2 separate regions of the Homo sapiens genome follow, and region 2 is linked to region 1. The links are contacts of gene promoters, found by promoter capture Hi-C in blood cells and fetal thymus (Javierre and others, 2016). All regions are on one chromosome and are shown on one strand. The core of a region is centred on a gene start or on the middle of the fragment in contact, and the rest is flanking DNA. Distances in the headings are between cores, read along the strand shown.

Region 1 (7,082 bases), core at 346-2,845:
CCGCCAGGCACGGTGGCTCACGTCTGTAATCTCAGCACTTTGGGAGGCCGAGGCGGGCAGATCACCTGAGGTCAGGAGTTCGAGACCAGCCTGACCAACACGGAGAAACCCCGTCTCTACTAAAAATACAAAATTAGCCGGGCGTGGTGACACATGCCTGTAATCCTAGCTACTCGGGAGGCTGAGGCAGAAGAATCGCTTGAATCCAGGAGGCGGAGGTTGCAGTGAGCCAAGATCGCGCCACTGCAGTCCAGCCTGGGTGACAGAGCGAGACTCTGTCTCAAAAAAAAAAAAAAAATATATATATATATATATATATATATATACACACATATATAATATATATTCACAGGCATATAACTGTCTGAACAGTAAAACTGTAAGAACACACTAAAACATGAATAGTACTTATTCCTGGATGGTCGTATTAGAAATGTTTTTTACCTTCATTCATTAAACAAATATTTACTAAGCATCTACCATGTGCCAGGCACAATTCTAGGTGCTTGTCATAGGGCATTAAAAAGTGTCTGCCCTCATGAACACTTATCGTTGAGTCGTGGGAAACACGTATATGTCAGGTAGTGATAAACATTAGGGAGAAAAGTTAACGCCGAGCACAGGTTGTTTACAGAGCTGGGGAAGGCCTCCTTGAGGGGGTGACATATGAGCAGAATGAGGGAGCAAGCCTTGTGGCTATCACGAGAAAGCTATCTTTATGGTTTTCCAATTAATTTTCTAAATTTTCTCTTCCAAGCATGCAACACCTACATAATTAAGACAAAACAAACCAAAAAAACTCTTTCCATTTATGAAAGAGATCTGGAGCCTGAAATCATCTCCGGGTCGAGGCGTGGAGAGAGTGGGAGAGGATCCGAGGGTATGGAAAGGACCCCGAGCCCCCCTGCTCTAGATCCCTCCGGGCCGTGGGACCCCTGACGCCCAGCAGCAACTCGTGGACAAAGCAGCTGGTGAGAGAACGCGGGACTCCGGCCAGGTCAGTGTCCCGCTTGCCGCGTCCTGCTAAGGCGACCCGAAGACAGAGGATCGCCGCAGGAGGCTCCGCGCCCCTTACCCGAGGGCACTTCCCAGCAAGCTCGACGCCTCTCCAGGGAATTGGGAGGAGCGGGACCCAAGAGGCTAGAAAAGAGTCTCCCCGGCCCGAGCTCCACGGCCCGCGGCCTTTCGGCCCTCACCTACTAGTTGGCAAAGAAAGACCGTGGCAGAAGGAAGAGGCCGCTCCAGCGCATCCCTTCGGGCGGAGCAGAAGCTCCACTTGTGGCTAGGCCATGTGCCCTCTCCGTTCCTCGGGCCAGCCTTGGCTTCCCCTTTTTGTCGCTCAAGGGCCAGGGTCGCAAGGAAATGTGAAAAAAAAGCGGAGACAAAAGAGAACGAGGTAAATCTAGATGCAGAGCCTCGCCTTTCCTCCCGGGTGCAGGTGTATGACGCGTATGGAGTTTCTGTCTTCTAATAGGCAGCCTGAGAATTCTTCCTGTTCATTGGCCATCGGTCATGGAGAAGGCGGGCTCAGTGGACGAACGGCTTTCTGGGAGCTGGGGAATGCTTGCGTAGCGTAGTTTCCCAGCGAGCCCCGCGAGGACTTCCGGCGCCGGGAGCTCGCGGCGGAAGTGGGATCTCCTGGGCCGTAGTGGGCGTTGTGTGTTTCGGGGGCGGGGGCGGGGGCGGGGGCCGGGGCGGGGACGGGGCCTCTGGCCGCCTGGCTCCAACATCAAGCACCGGGCTCCGAGTGGCCGGGATCAGCGCCCCGAGGCAGAGGCCGGAGGGCGCGCGCACTGCTAGGAAGTGCTGGTCCCCCGCGCCGCTCTGCCAGCTTGGTCCCCCGGCAGACGCCCCTGTACGATCGCCGCTCGCCCCGCGGGCGAGGCTGCGGTGGACAGCGCGGGGCTCCGGCTGGCTCGCCTTCCCGCCTGCCGTGTCCTGCTGAGCGACCCTGGTGAGTCCTGGCCCTCTTCGAGGAAAGTCTTCTTCGAAGTCACCAGAGGATGAGAATGGTGCGCGCACCTTTCAGGGGTCTTGTGAGGAGCAGAATAAATAAAGTGCTTAGGATGGACTAAAGAATTGGAAACAACCCGAATGCATCACTCGAGTATTGATTAAGAAACTAGAGCATATCCATACCGCGGAAGCTCATAGTGCCGCTAATGTCTGTGCAGTAAGGTCTCATTTATGTAGAAACACATCAAGCACCTTTTCTCCCCGCTATGGATGACTTTTTTAGTAAAAGCACAGGAAAAGGTCTGGGACGTCATTTGTCAGACTGTTAAGTCGGGGGGTACAATGGTATTGAGGAAGGGAGAGTTTTACAGATTTCTATATTGTTTGAATCTTCCCTTTTTTATTAAGATGGTTTGTATTTTTTTCATTTTCTTTTTACTTTTCTTTTCTTTCTTTTTTTTTTTTTTTTGAGATGGTCTCACTCTGTTGCCCAGGCTGGAGTACAGTGGTGCGATCATAGCTCATTGCAACCTCAAACTCCTGGACTCAAGCAATCTTTCCTCCTCAGCCTCCCCAGTAGCTGGGACTACAGGAGCCCCACCTGGCTTTTTTTGTTTTTTGGTACAGATGGCGTCTCACATTGTCTTCCCAAAGGGGTCTTGAACCCCTGGCCTCAAGCAATCATCCTGTGTCTGTCTCCCAAAATGCTGGGATTACAGGCATAAGCCACCAAGCCCGGCCAGTTTGTATTTTTATTGTTGAAACAAAAAATCGATTACTGAAAATTGCATAATACACTTTTCAGTAGAGAGTAACAATGTAAGGTATAAATGTGTCATACATTTATATGTACCTGTGGATAAATGGCTTTGGATGGTGTCTGTAAGCCCTTCTGTGACACCTCAGGGCCAGATGTGTTTTGGAATTCAGAGGTTTTCAAATTTGAGAAAGATAATATAGTGCACAGACGATATATCAAGCACATCTCCAGAGGGATCTGGGGCAACACTAAATAATGAAACATATCAGTTAAAATTTTTTAATTAGGCCGGGCGCAGTGGCTCACGCCTGTAATCCCAGCACTTTAGGAGGCCGAGGCGGGTGGATCACAAGGTCAGGAGTTTGAGACCATCCTGGCCAACATGGTGAAACCTCGTCTCTACTAAAAATACAAAAAATTAGCTGGACGTGGTAGCTGGTGCCTGTAGTCCCAGCTACTTGGGAGGCTGAAGCAGGAGAATCGCTTGAACCTGGCAGGCAGAGGTTGCAGTGAACTGAGATTGCGCCACTGCACTCCAGCCTGGGCGACAGAGTGAGACTCTCTCTCAGTAAAAAAAAAAAAAAAAGATATTTAATTGATGTATAATGTGCAATACAGAAAAACACACGAGTGGGTATAGCTCAATGAAATTTTATAAACTGAAGATATATGTTATTAATATTTCCACCATAATTTTGAACATTTACATTTAGTGGAATAAATTGAGATTATAAATATGCTTATATCAGGTCAGGTGGTGCTGCCAAATGAATGACATTGGGTTTTGCTGTCAAAGAGTTATGAAACACCCGGGTTTTGGATTTCTGGCTTTGGGATGAGAGCTTGTGGGCCTGTGTTAATAGGAGAGACAGTCACATGAGCAAGGCATTACAGTAAAGCCTAGAAAAGGCTTCAGGGCCATGAAAGGATGGGGACTGGATGGCTCTTCAGCCTGGGGTTTGCTCGTGTATTCCACATCCTTCCTCCTCAGTCCTGCCATTTTGCTCTTTCCCCAGGAGTACACATCCAGATGCCAGCCCAGCTACCACAGGGGATCCCTCTGGGAGACTGAAAGTACAGGTTCTGGGGCCCAGGTTGAAGCCGACCAACCCTGAGCCTCAGGCCAGGGGAATGGCAGCCCCCTTGGAGGCCCAGGACCAGGCCCCTGGGGAGGGAGAAGGGCTTCTGATTGTGAAAGTGGAAGATTCCTCCTGGGAACAGGAATCTGCCCAGCATGAGGATGGCAGGGATTCCGAAGCCTGCCGCCAGCGCTTCCGGCAATTCTGCTACGGGGATGTGCATGGGCCTCATGAGGCCTTCAGCCAGCTCTGGGAGCTCTGCTGCCGCTGGCTGCGGCCCGAGCTGCGTACCAAGGAGCAGATCCTGGAGCTGCTGGTGCTGGAGCAGTTCCTGACAGTGCTGCCAGGGGAGATCCAGGGCTGGGTGCGTGAGCAGCACCCGGGAAGCGGTGAGGAGGCTGTCGCCTTGGTGGAGGACCTACAGAAGCAGCCAGTGAAAGCCTGGCGACAGGTGAGGGGCCCTTCCACATCCAGGGGCACCTGGATGGTATCTGAGCTCGAGAGAAGTGGGTAACCTGCAGAGATAAGTCTCCCAGAGGCTCACAGGGTAGGGGAGACACAGAGCCCCCAGGAGCAGGCACACAAGCACAGTGTGCCATGGGTGCCTTTCTGAAAGATGCGATCCAAAGTAAATGTGATTTATTTTTTGTGGCTTTGGAAGGCAGCAATAGGGCTGAAGTGCGAATGTTCCAGACAGGAGGTTTTAGCTCCATGCAGGGTCTGCTGATGTTTATTTGCATTTTGCTCTAGGCCTGGCTCTGGGGACACAAGGGTGTGCATAGAGCCAGCTCCAGAGTGGGGCGAGAAGGTGGAGCTGTCCGGGGCCTCTGCTACCTTGTGGGATGTTGGGTCCTTCACATTGGATGCATCTGGGGAGGTTCTAATGAGTGGCTGGGGGATGGGGTTCTGCCTTTGGCAGGAGGGTCCCCAGCTACCCCCTTGCTAAGTGGCTGTGATTCTGGCCTTTCAGGGCTGGTTCTTGCCTCGTGAATGATCGGGGAGCATCCTTGGGCACACAGCATTACCTGGTATCACATTCTCCTCCGGACTTTTCCTGGGGCACCATATTGGTCTCCTTCCCACACCCCAGCATCCTGAGGGTCATGTCCTGTGTCTCCTTCCCAGGGAGTAAACTCTGTCTCCCCCGGTCTGGTCTCGGGCTGATGAGCATGTTGTGGTTCCTGCACAGGATGTGCCCTCGGAGGAGGCGGAACCCGAGGCTGCAGGCCGGGGATCCCAGGCCACGGGGCCTCCCCCGACGGTGGGGGCACGGAGGCGGCCGTCTGTTCCCCAGGAGCAGCACAGCCATAGCGGTGAGTAAGCCTCCGTTCTTGTGGACAGTCGAGTGGCTGGGCAGGGACCTAGCTTTGTCACCGGCGTTGCCCTAAGGGTCACAGGCAGGACAGCTCCCTCTGTGAAGTCCAGGGCGTGTGTGCATGCGCACAGGCTGGGGAGGCCATAGGCGTCGGTGTCAAGCCTGGGCTGGCCTTTCTAAGGCTCCATTCTTCTCCTTCAGCCCAGCCTCCTGCTCTTCTTAAAGAGGGTCGTCCCGGAGAGACGACGGACACCTGCTTTGTCTCTGGGGTCCATGTGAGTCACCAGTCCCTTTGTCTTCTTTAAGGCACTTGGCCCTGTTGAGTTTGTAAAATGGGACTTGCTGTCCCATCAGGCCTCTTTCATCTGACCCATCCTGTCCCCGCCAGTGCTGCTGGGAGGCCTGAGCCGGGTCTTCTCACCCCATTCCAGGGACCTGTGGCATTGGGAGACATCCCATTCTATTTCTCCCGGGAAGAATGGGGCACCCTGGACCCTGCTCAGCGGGATCTCTTCTGGGACATAAAGCGGGAGAACTCCCGGAACACCACCCTGGGTAAGCACCCAGGGCCTTTGGGTCCAGGCTGGCCGCCCCCGATTCTGCTGGAACTTCAGTCTTGTTTCCCACCCCATCCTTAGCTGGTTCCAAAGCAGGCTCTCCCTAGGTCTTGCCAGGAGCCTGAGTAACTCCTTTCTTGGCTGATGATCAGTTTTTGTGCGTTTCCACATGCAGCATGGGACGGCGCCGGCGCTGCCCAGCCCTGCAGTTGCTCTAAGGGCAACTTCTCCTTTGAGTCTCACAACCTAGTGCATGGAAGTATTGTCCCCATTTTACGCATAAGGGACCTGAGACTCAGGTCAGTGGATGCTGAAGGGACACAGCTGGGACTTGGATCAGGCACAGTTGTGAGGCCACCTTGGGCTGCTAGGAGCAGGGGTGCTGACGGGGAACCCCAGCTGCTCACCAGCCTGGGCCCCTGCTCGTCAGAACTGCACTTACCAGGTTCCTCTCCATGCCAGGCCCCTTCTCAGCACCATCAGGGATCATCTTGTTCAGTCACACTCCCAGGAGGATGGGCTGCGACCTCTGTCCAGATCTGTGTTGAGTTTGGAGAACTAGAGCCTGCGTGGTGAAGGGAGCCACACTAGCTAGACCAGTTTGGCTCCTCAGTTTCCGACTGTGACGGTTGGGAAAAATTTTCTTTCTTTTTTTTTTTTTTGAGATGGAGTCTTGCTCTGTCGCCAGGCCGGAATGCAGTGGTGTGATCTCAGCTCACTGAAACTTCCACCTCCCGGGTTCAAGCAATTCTCCTGCCTCAGCCTGAGTAGCTGGGATTACAGGCATGAGCCACCATGCCCGGCTAATTTTTTTGTATTTTTAATAGAGACGAGTTTTCACCATGTTGGTCAGGCTGGTCTCGAACTCCTGACTTCATGATCCGCCTGCCTCAGCCTCCCAAAGTGCTGGGATTACAGGCGTGAGCCACCGCGCCCGGCCCTTGAAAAGTTTCAGAATTACTATAAATCTGTTCTGCTGTGGAGCTTGATATCTGGGGTTCAGAGTGGGACATTGGATCCCAGTGTGGCCTGCAGGGCACAGATGGCTTAGGGGGCTGGCCCATGCAGGCGGGATCAGAGGCTTATTCAGACTGCTGCTCTGCCGAATTTTTTCATCATCCCTGATTTATTTGGGTTTTTGTTTGTTTTTGAGACAAAGTCTCGCTCTTGGAGTGCAATGGCATGATCCCGGCTTACTGCAACCTCCGCTTCATGGGTTCAAGTGATTCTTCTACCTCAGCCTCCTGAGTAGCTGGGATTACAGATGTGCGCCACCATGCCCTGCTGATTTTTGCATTTTTTAATAGAGACGGGGTTTCACCATGTTGGCCAGGCTGGTCTCGAACTCCTAACCTCAGGTGATCAGCTCGCCTCAGCCTCCCAAAATGTTGGGATTACAGGCTTGAGTCACTGCG
Region 2 (7,309 bases), core at 1,109-3,608, 270 kb after region 1:
AGAGACTTCTCCAGGGTCATGATCCCAAAGGCTTAACCCGTTTACAAGGAGAGAGTTGTCTCCTGACGCCCAAAATGGCAGCTAAAATGGAGATAACTTTAAGCTCCAACACTGAAGCTTCCTCCAAGCAAGAGAGACACATAATAGCCAAACTAGAAGAGAAACGGGGCCCTCCTCTGCAAAAAAACTGCCCAGATCCTGAGCTCTGCCGCCAGAGCTTCAGACGCTTTTGTTATCAAGAGGTGTCTGGACCCCAAGAGGCTCTCTCCCAGCTCCGACAGCTCTGCCGTCAGTGGTTGCAACCCGAGCTGCACACCAAGGAGCAGATTTTGGAGCTTCTGGTGATGGAGCAGTTCCTGACCATCCTGCCCCCGGAGATCCAGGCTCGGGTCAGGCATCGATGTCCAATGAGCAGCAAGGAGATTGTGACCCTCGTGGAAGATTTTCACAGAGCATCCAAGAAACCAAAGCAGTGGGTAAGGAGGGTCCTCTCCCATCATCCTGGGGATTTCTTTTTCTTTTCTTTTTTTTTTTTTTTCTTTTTTTGAGACGGAATCTTGCTCTTTCGCCCAGGCCCGAGTGCAGTGGCGCTATCTCGGCTCACTGCAAGCTCCGCCTCCCGGGTTCACGCCATTCTCCTGCCTCAGCCTCCCGAGTAGCTGGGACTACAGGCGCCCGCCACCGCGCCCGGCTAATTTTTTGTATTTTTAGTAGAGACAGGGTTTCACCGTGTTAGCCAGGATGGTCTCGATCTCCTGACCTCGTGATCCGCCCGCCTCGGCCTCCCAAAGTGCTGGGACTACAGGTGTGAGCCACCGTGCCCGGCCGATTTCTTTTTCATCTGGGTAATGTTTGGTATCTGGATCTCTCCCTATTTAAGTCTCAGAAGTGGACTGGATGGCTTCAGAAGTTGCTTCCAGCCTCTATCTGGGAACCTATCCTGAGTTATTAACAGGTTTTTAGAAAATCCAACTACTGATACCCAGTGAGGCAACAGAGGACCAAGGTTCTTACCATTCCTTTATGCACCTTGTGTCACCAGAAGTAATTGTAAGGTTCTTAAATCCCTTCTGTCAGCTCTTCCCCCACCCAACTTAGTTTTCCTACTAGCAGAATTCTTAGCAGATAGGGTCACCCTGTTGGGTAGCAGTTGGACTTTGGGGAACTTCATTTCATTGGAAGTTCTAGCTTATTGTCTTTCCAGTGTTTAGCTTATAGTCTTTTTTTTTTTTTTTTTTTTTTTTTTTTTTTTTTTTTGAGATGGAGTCTTGCTGTGTTTCCCAAGCTGGAGTGCAGTGGTGCCATTTCAGCCCACTGCAACCTCTGCACCCCAGGTTCAAGCGATTCTCAGGTCTCAGCCTCCTGAGTAGCTGGGTTTACAGGTGCCTGCCACCACGCCCAGCTAATTTTTGTACTTTTTAGTAGAGAGGGGGTTTCACTATGTTGGCCAGGCTAGTCTCGAACTCCTGACCTCAAGTGATCCTCCCGCCTTGGCCTCTCAAAGTGCTGGGATTACAGGCGTGAGCCACCACACCTGGCCTAGCTTTTTGTCTTTGATTTTTTTTTTTTTTTTTGAGACTGGGTCTCACTGTGTTGCTGAGGCTGGAGGGCAGTGGCACGATCTCAGCTCGCTGCAACCTCCATGTCCAGCTCAAGTGTTCCTCACACCTCAGCCTCTCAAGTAGCTGGGACTGCAGGTACATGCCACCATGCGTGGCTAATTTTTGTACTTTTGTAGAGACAGGGTTTCTCCACATTGCCCAGGCTGGTCTTGAACTCTTCTTGGGCCCAGGCGATCCGCCCGTCTTGACCTCCCAAAGTGCTGGGATTACAGGAGTGAGCCACACAATGCCTGACTAGCTTATTGTCTTTGGATCAGGAAGTTACAGTTCAACTGGCCAGCGTTGCCATTGCTTGCCACTCCCCGCCCCGAAGTCAGACCCCAGTCAGGACCTAGGCAAGAAGCAAACGGCAGGTACTTCGGAAAATAGAACTTGTTAGGGAATGAAGGTGGGGTGGTCCTCTTAGACCCCTACTACTACTGGGATCTCCTTACCAGGAAAGCCTTTGGCAGAACAATGTATTAGGTAAGAAGGACTTTTAACAGCCCCTCACCATACTGCTTCCTGTTCCTACAGGGCCTATTTCCAGCAGAAGTAGGTGGGGGGTGGTGTGTAGAGTAGGCATCTGATGGCCCAGTGTTGTGACTGACCCTGATATTTGTGCCAGCAACTACCCTGATGACTTTGACTCTGGCCCTTGAGAAAGGCCCAAGCTTTAGGGGAAGCCACTCGGCTGATTTGTAGCATCCTCATTCCTGTCATTCTTCACGTTCTCCCCTTTACTTCCTTTGAGGGTTTCAGTGGTTTCTATGAAAGTTGACCTCTAGATGGTTATCAGCAATTCCCAAGGTAAACGGGTCATTATACAACAGTGAGAGATCAAGCTTCCCTCAGTCCTGATGGATGGAATTAATGGATGGGGCTTGTTCCTAGGTGGCCGTTTGTATGCAGGGGCAAAAGGTGCTCTTGGAGAAAACTGGATCTCAGCTTGGAGAACAGGAACTGCCAGACTTTCAACCGCAGACTCCTAGGAGAGATCTCAGGGAGAGCTCTCCAGCAGAGCCTTCCCAGGCAGGAGCTTATGACCGGCTGAGCCCCCATCATTGGGAGAAATCCCCACTCCTCCAAGAACCAACCCCCAAATTGGCTGGGACAGGTAAACACTCTGCCTTTTCTCTCCCTCTCATCAGCCCTTTATCTCCATCAATGTATCTCATGGTTCTGCAAAGGCATAGACCACATGTGTGTGTTTTTTTAAATGTTATATATAATAGTAGATGATTATTCACTAAACAAATTTCACTAATTAGGATGGTGGTGATACTACAAGTAAGTATGTTTTTATCGTTTTCTGTTAATGAAAATTTAAGAATCCAGTGCATGACAGGGTTGTACCTACTTTTCTGTCCGTTTCAGAACTTCTTATAGAAAAGACAGATCCAAATATGGCCACAGATGAACTTCCATGCAAGCTATGGCTGAGTTTCATTGCTTAAAATGCTCCTCTGTTTAGAGGGGCCTGGTAGAAATAAAAACCCACCCTATATCTTATATCTTTGTCCTCCTCTGTGATGTTGCTTGTACTTTAGATCCTCAAATCTATTTCCCTTTCTCTGGTGTGATACTTGTGTAACTGCTGGCCTTGTTCTACACAGTCCTGTGATCTCTAAGCCTGAATGACAGTGACATTTTGGCCAAGCCTGGTGATGTGAATACAAGATACAGTGAGCACGTTAGGGAGGAGGGTTACAAGACGACAAAAATCCTCAGTTTCTTAATATTTGCTACATCCAATGAGGTACTTCGTGTTTTAGTCTGTTCAGGCTGCTAATATAAAATGCTAGAGACTAGGTAGTTTATAAACAACAGGAGTTTATTTCTCACAGTTCTAGAGGCTAGGAAGTCTGAGTTCAAGGTGCCAGCATGGTTGGGTTCCAGTGAGGCCCCTCTTCCAGGTCACAGACTGCCTACTTCTCAGTCCTCATGTGGCAGAAGGGGAAGACAGGCTCCCGTGGGGCTCTTTCATGAAGGCACTAATCCCATTCCAGTGAGGGCAGCACCCTCATGACCTAATCACCTCCCAAAGGCCCCATGTCCTAACACTATTACCTTGGGAGTTAGAATTTCATATGAATTTGGAGGAACATAAACATTTAGCCCCTGGCAACCACAGTCTACTTTTTGTCTCTAGAATTGCTTATTCTGAACATTTTATACAAATGGAATCACACAGGCCGGGCACAGTGGCTCACGCCTGTAATCCCAGCACTTTGGGAGGCCAAGGCAGGCGGATCACTTAGGCTCAGGAGTTCGAGACCAGCCTGGGCAACATGGCGAAATCCTGTCTCTACAAAAAATGCAAAAATTAGCGGGGCATGGTGCTGCACACCTGTAATCCCAGCTGCTTGGGGGAGCTGAGGCAGGAGGATCACTTCAACCTGGGAGGTCGAGGCTGCAGTGAACTGAGATCGTGCCACTGCACTCTAGCCTATGTGACAAAGTAAGACCCTGTCTCAAAAATAAATAAATAAATAAATTGAATCACACAATATGTGGTCTTTTGTGTGTGGCTTCTTTCACTGAGCATGTTTTCAAGTTTTATCCATGCTGTAGCATCAATCAGTGCTTCATTCCTTTTCTGTGGCTGAATAATAGGCATTGTACGGATATATTACATGTTGGTTTTCTGTTCATGTTGGTTCATCTGTTCATAGATTTTTGGGTTGTTTCTACTTTTTGGTTATTATGAAGAATGCTGCTATAAATGTGTGTTTTTGTGTAGACATGTTTTCATTTCTCTTGAGTATATACCTAGGAGTGGAATTACCATATGCTAGGTCATGTGGTAATTCCATGTTTAACTTATGAGGAACTACCAGACTGTTTTCCAAAGCAGCTACACCATTTTACATCCCCACCAATACTGTGTGAGGATTCCGATTTCTCCACATTCTTGCTAGCACTTGTTATTGTCTTATACCCATCCTATTCGGTGAGAAATTTTGATTTGAGGTTTTGATTTACATTTCCCTAGTGACTAATGGTGTTGAACATCTTTTCATGTGCTTATTATCCAGTTACATATCTTGTGTGGAAAAATATCTGTTCAGATCCTTTGGTCATTTTTAAATTAGGTTATTTGTCTTTATTTTTTATAAGAGTCCTTTATGTATTCTAGATACTAGACCCTTATGTGTAATTTGCAAATCTTTTCTCTCATTTTGTGGGTTGTCTCACTTTCTTGACAGTGTCCTTTGACGCACACGTTTTTCATTTTGCTGCAGTCTAATTTATCTATTTTTTTCTTTCTTTATGCTTTGGTGTCATATGTAAAATAGCACTGCCTAATCCAAGGGCACAAATATGTACAGCTATGGTTTCTTCAAGGAGACATAGATTTAGCTCTTACTTTCAGCTATTTGGTCCATTTTAAGTTTATTTTTTCCCCATACATAAACAAGTCAATTTTTATATAGGTTTTGAGGTAGGGGTCTGTCAATCTGATCAGGGGTCTGTCTTAATCTGATCAGGCTCTTACAACAAATTGCCTTAGACTAGGTAATTTATAAACAACAGAAATTTGTTGCTCATAGTTCCTGGATACTGGGAAGTTCAAGATCAAGGTGCCAGCAGATTTGGTGTCTGGCGAGGGCCCATTCCTCATAAATGGTGCCTGCTATGAGTCCCCACATGGTAGTCTCTTGGGTTTCTTTTATAAGGACACTAATCCCATTTATGAGGACCCCACCCTCATAACCTAATCACCTCCCAGATGCCCCACCTCCCAAGACCACTGCACTGGGGACTGTCAATATATGTGTGTCAGGGGACAGGGGGGATAAACATTCAGACCATAGCAGGGTCCAACTTCATTCTCTTGTATGTGGAAATCCAGTAGTCCTAGAATCCTTTATGAAAAAGACTATTCTTTTCCCATTGAATTGTCTTGTCAAAAAGCAATTGACCCTGATTGTATAGGCTGATTATTTACATTTGAATTTAAATGAATTAAAATTAAAAAAAAATTTAAAATTAAGTTCCTTAGTCACAGTAGTCACATTTCAAGTACCCAGTAGCCACATAGTCACATGTGGCTAGTGGCTGCCATATTGAACAACGTGCATGTGCCTGTGCATGCACGTGTGCACACACACATTTTCCACATCACAAGGGATCCTTCTCCAGATCCTGTGATTTCCCATAGGCCGTTCCAGCTCATCTCCATCCAGACTGTCAATCCTTCTGTAATTAGGATACATGGCTAAGCCCTGATTCCAGTTTCTGAACTCATATACTGTCAAATTTGTAATGAAAGAAAACATCACAGTCTCTGAACTTACCATCTTTTGAAGAGAAGGTGGTTGTCAATTAGTGTTTACTAAGTGAGGGGTATTTGTTGAAATAGCTCAGGCATTGGACTACAGCAGTAAAATTTGCAATGTTGAGATTTCACCTCTCTTCCTTCTTCATTAGATACCCAATTCTGATGGGTTTGCTTTTCCCTGTTCTTCATTTCCTAAACCTTTCCCTAAAGGGAGAAAGGAAGAAGGAGGATGGAGAACTTGGTTCCTAAATTTAATATAAATCACAGTCACCCCAGGAGCCTGCTAACTGTGCAGATTATCAGGCCCAACCCCCCGAGATTCTGACCCAGCAGCTCTGGGGGAAGGGTGAAGAGCCTGCTTGTTTAACAAGTGCTCCAGATGAGTCTAATGCAAGTTGCCAGCGGAGGGCCACCCTTTGAGAAACCTCTCAGAGTATTTCATAACTCTTGCTGAAGTTATTTCTTCCAAGTGCAGAAAATGAAGCATTTTCTTTCTAATTATAGAGGCCCCCAGAATGAGAAGTGACAACAAGGAAAATCCACAACAGGAAGGGGCTAAAGGAGCAAAGCCATGTGCAGTGTCAGCTGGCAGATCCAAAGGGAATGGTCTGCAGAATCCTGAACCAAGAGGGGCAAATATGAGTGAACCTCGGTTGTCACGGAGGCAGGTCAGCTCCCCAAATGCTCAAAAGCCATTTGCTCACTACCAGAGACATTGCAGGGTGGAATACATCAGCAGCCCCCTAAAAAGCCACCCACTGAGAGAGCTAAAGAAAAGCAAAGGAGGTAAACGGAGTCTGAGCAACCGTTTGCAACATCTTGGTCACCAGCCCACCCGCTCAGCAAAGAAACCCTACAAATGTGATGACTGTGGGAAAAGCTTCACGTGGAATTCAGAGCTGAAGAGACACAAGAGAGTCCACACAGGAGAGAGACCCTACACGTGCGGAGAGTGTGGAAACTGCTTTGGGCGGCAGTCAACCCTGAAGCTGCACCAGAGGATCCACACTGGAGAGAAGCCATACCAGTGTGGCCAGTGTGGGAAAAGCTTTCGCCAGAGCTCAAACCTTCACCAGCATCACCGACTTCACCATGGGGACTAAAAGGAGCACTCCATGCTTTAGATTCACACGGAAGGTGTTTGTGTTTCTCCTCCCCCTTACTTGCATGTAAATCACAAAAACTGTGTGACTTACAAGGAAAGCACGAGGCCCTTGAGGAATGATGATGCACATTCTGCTGTGAGGAGGCCCAGAAAAGGCCAACCAGGGCCCAACCGTGCATGATGACAGGGTGAAGAGAAGGCAGGTCTGGGCACTGGGGCAAAGAGAACTTAAGTCTCTGCAGAGAGCAAGGAGTAACTACTGAGAGAGAATCAGGACAATCCTGCAGGTGGCCCGCTTACTGTTAAATCGTCCCTCTG

The links. Contacts are between HindIII fragments. The CHiCAGO score rates a contact against its expected background, and 5 or more counts as called.
Region 2: a fragment that was not itself captured here is called in contact with the fragment with the promoter of ZNF213 in region 1 in 2 of 17 cell types (naive CD8 T cells and total CD8 T cells); the score reaches 5.7 in naive CD8 T cells.

The regions. Positions count from the first base shown.
Region 1 is chr16:3,133,434-3,140,515 of GRCh38, forward strand. It overlaps ZNF213 (zinc finger protein 213), which reads left to right and starts at 1,596. Exons shown (of 6, transcript NM_004220.3): 1 at 1,596-1,954; 2 at 3,733-4,246; 3 at 4,985-5,108; 4 at 5,312-5,385; 5 at 5,542-5,665. The coding sequence starts at 3,848. It overlaps ZNF213-AS1 (ZNF213 antisense RNA 1), which reads right to left and starts at 1,449. Exons shown (of 6, transcript NR_110900.1): 1 at 1,197-1,449. RefSeq lists enhancers at 1,177-1,346, 1,357-1,546, 5,031-5,531 and a silencer at 1,657-1,886. The HindIII fragment of the contact is 14,017 bases long and covers 1-7,082 here.
Region 2 is chr16:3,401,931-3,409,239 of GRCh38, forward strand. ZNF174 (zinc finger protein 174) reads left to right here. Exons shown (of 3, transcript NM_003450.3): 1 at 1-476; 2 at 2,496-2,718; 3 at 6,391-7,309. The coding sequence starts at 75. The coding sequence ends at 6,989. Among named protein-coding and RNA genes, the nearest start is that of ZNF174, 4.4 kb to the left of the region's middle. The HindIII fragment of the contact is 171 bases long and covers 2,274-2,444 here.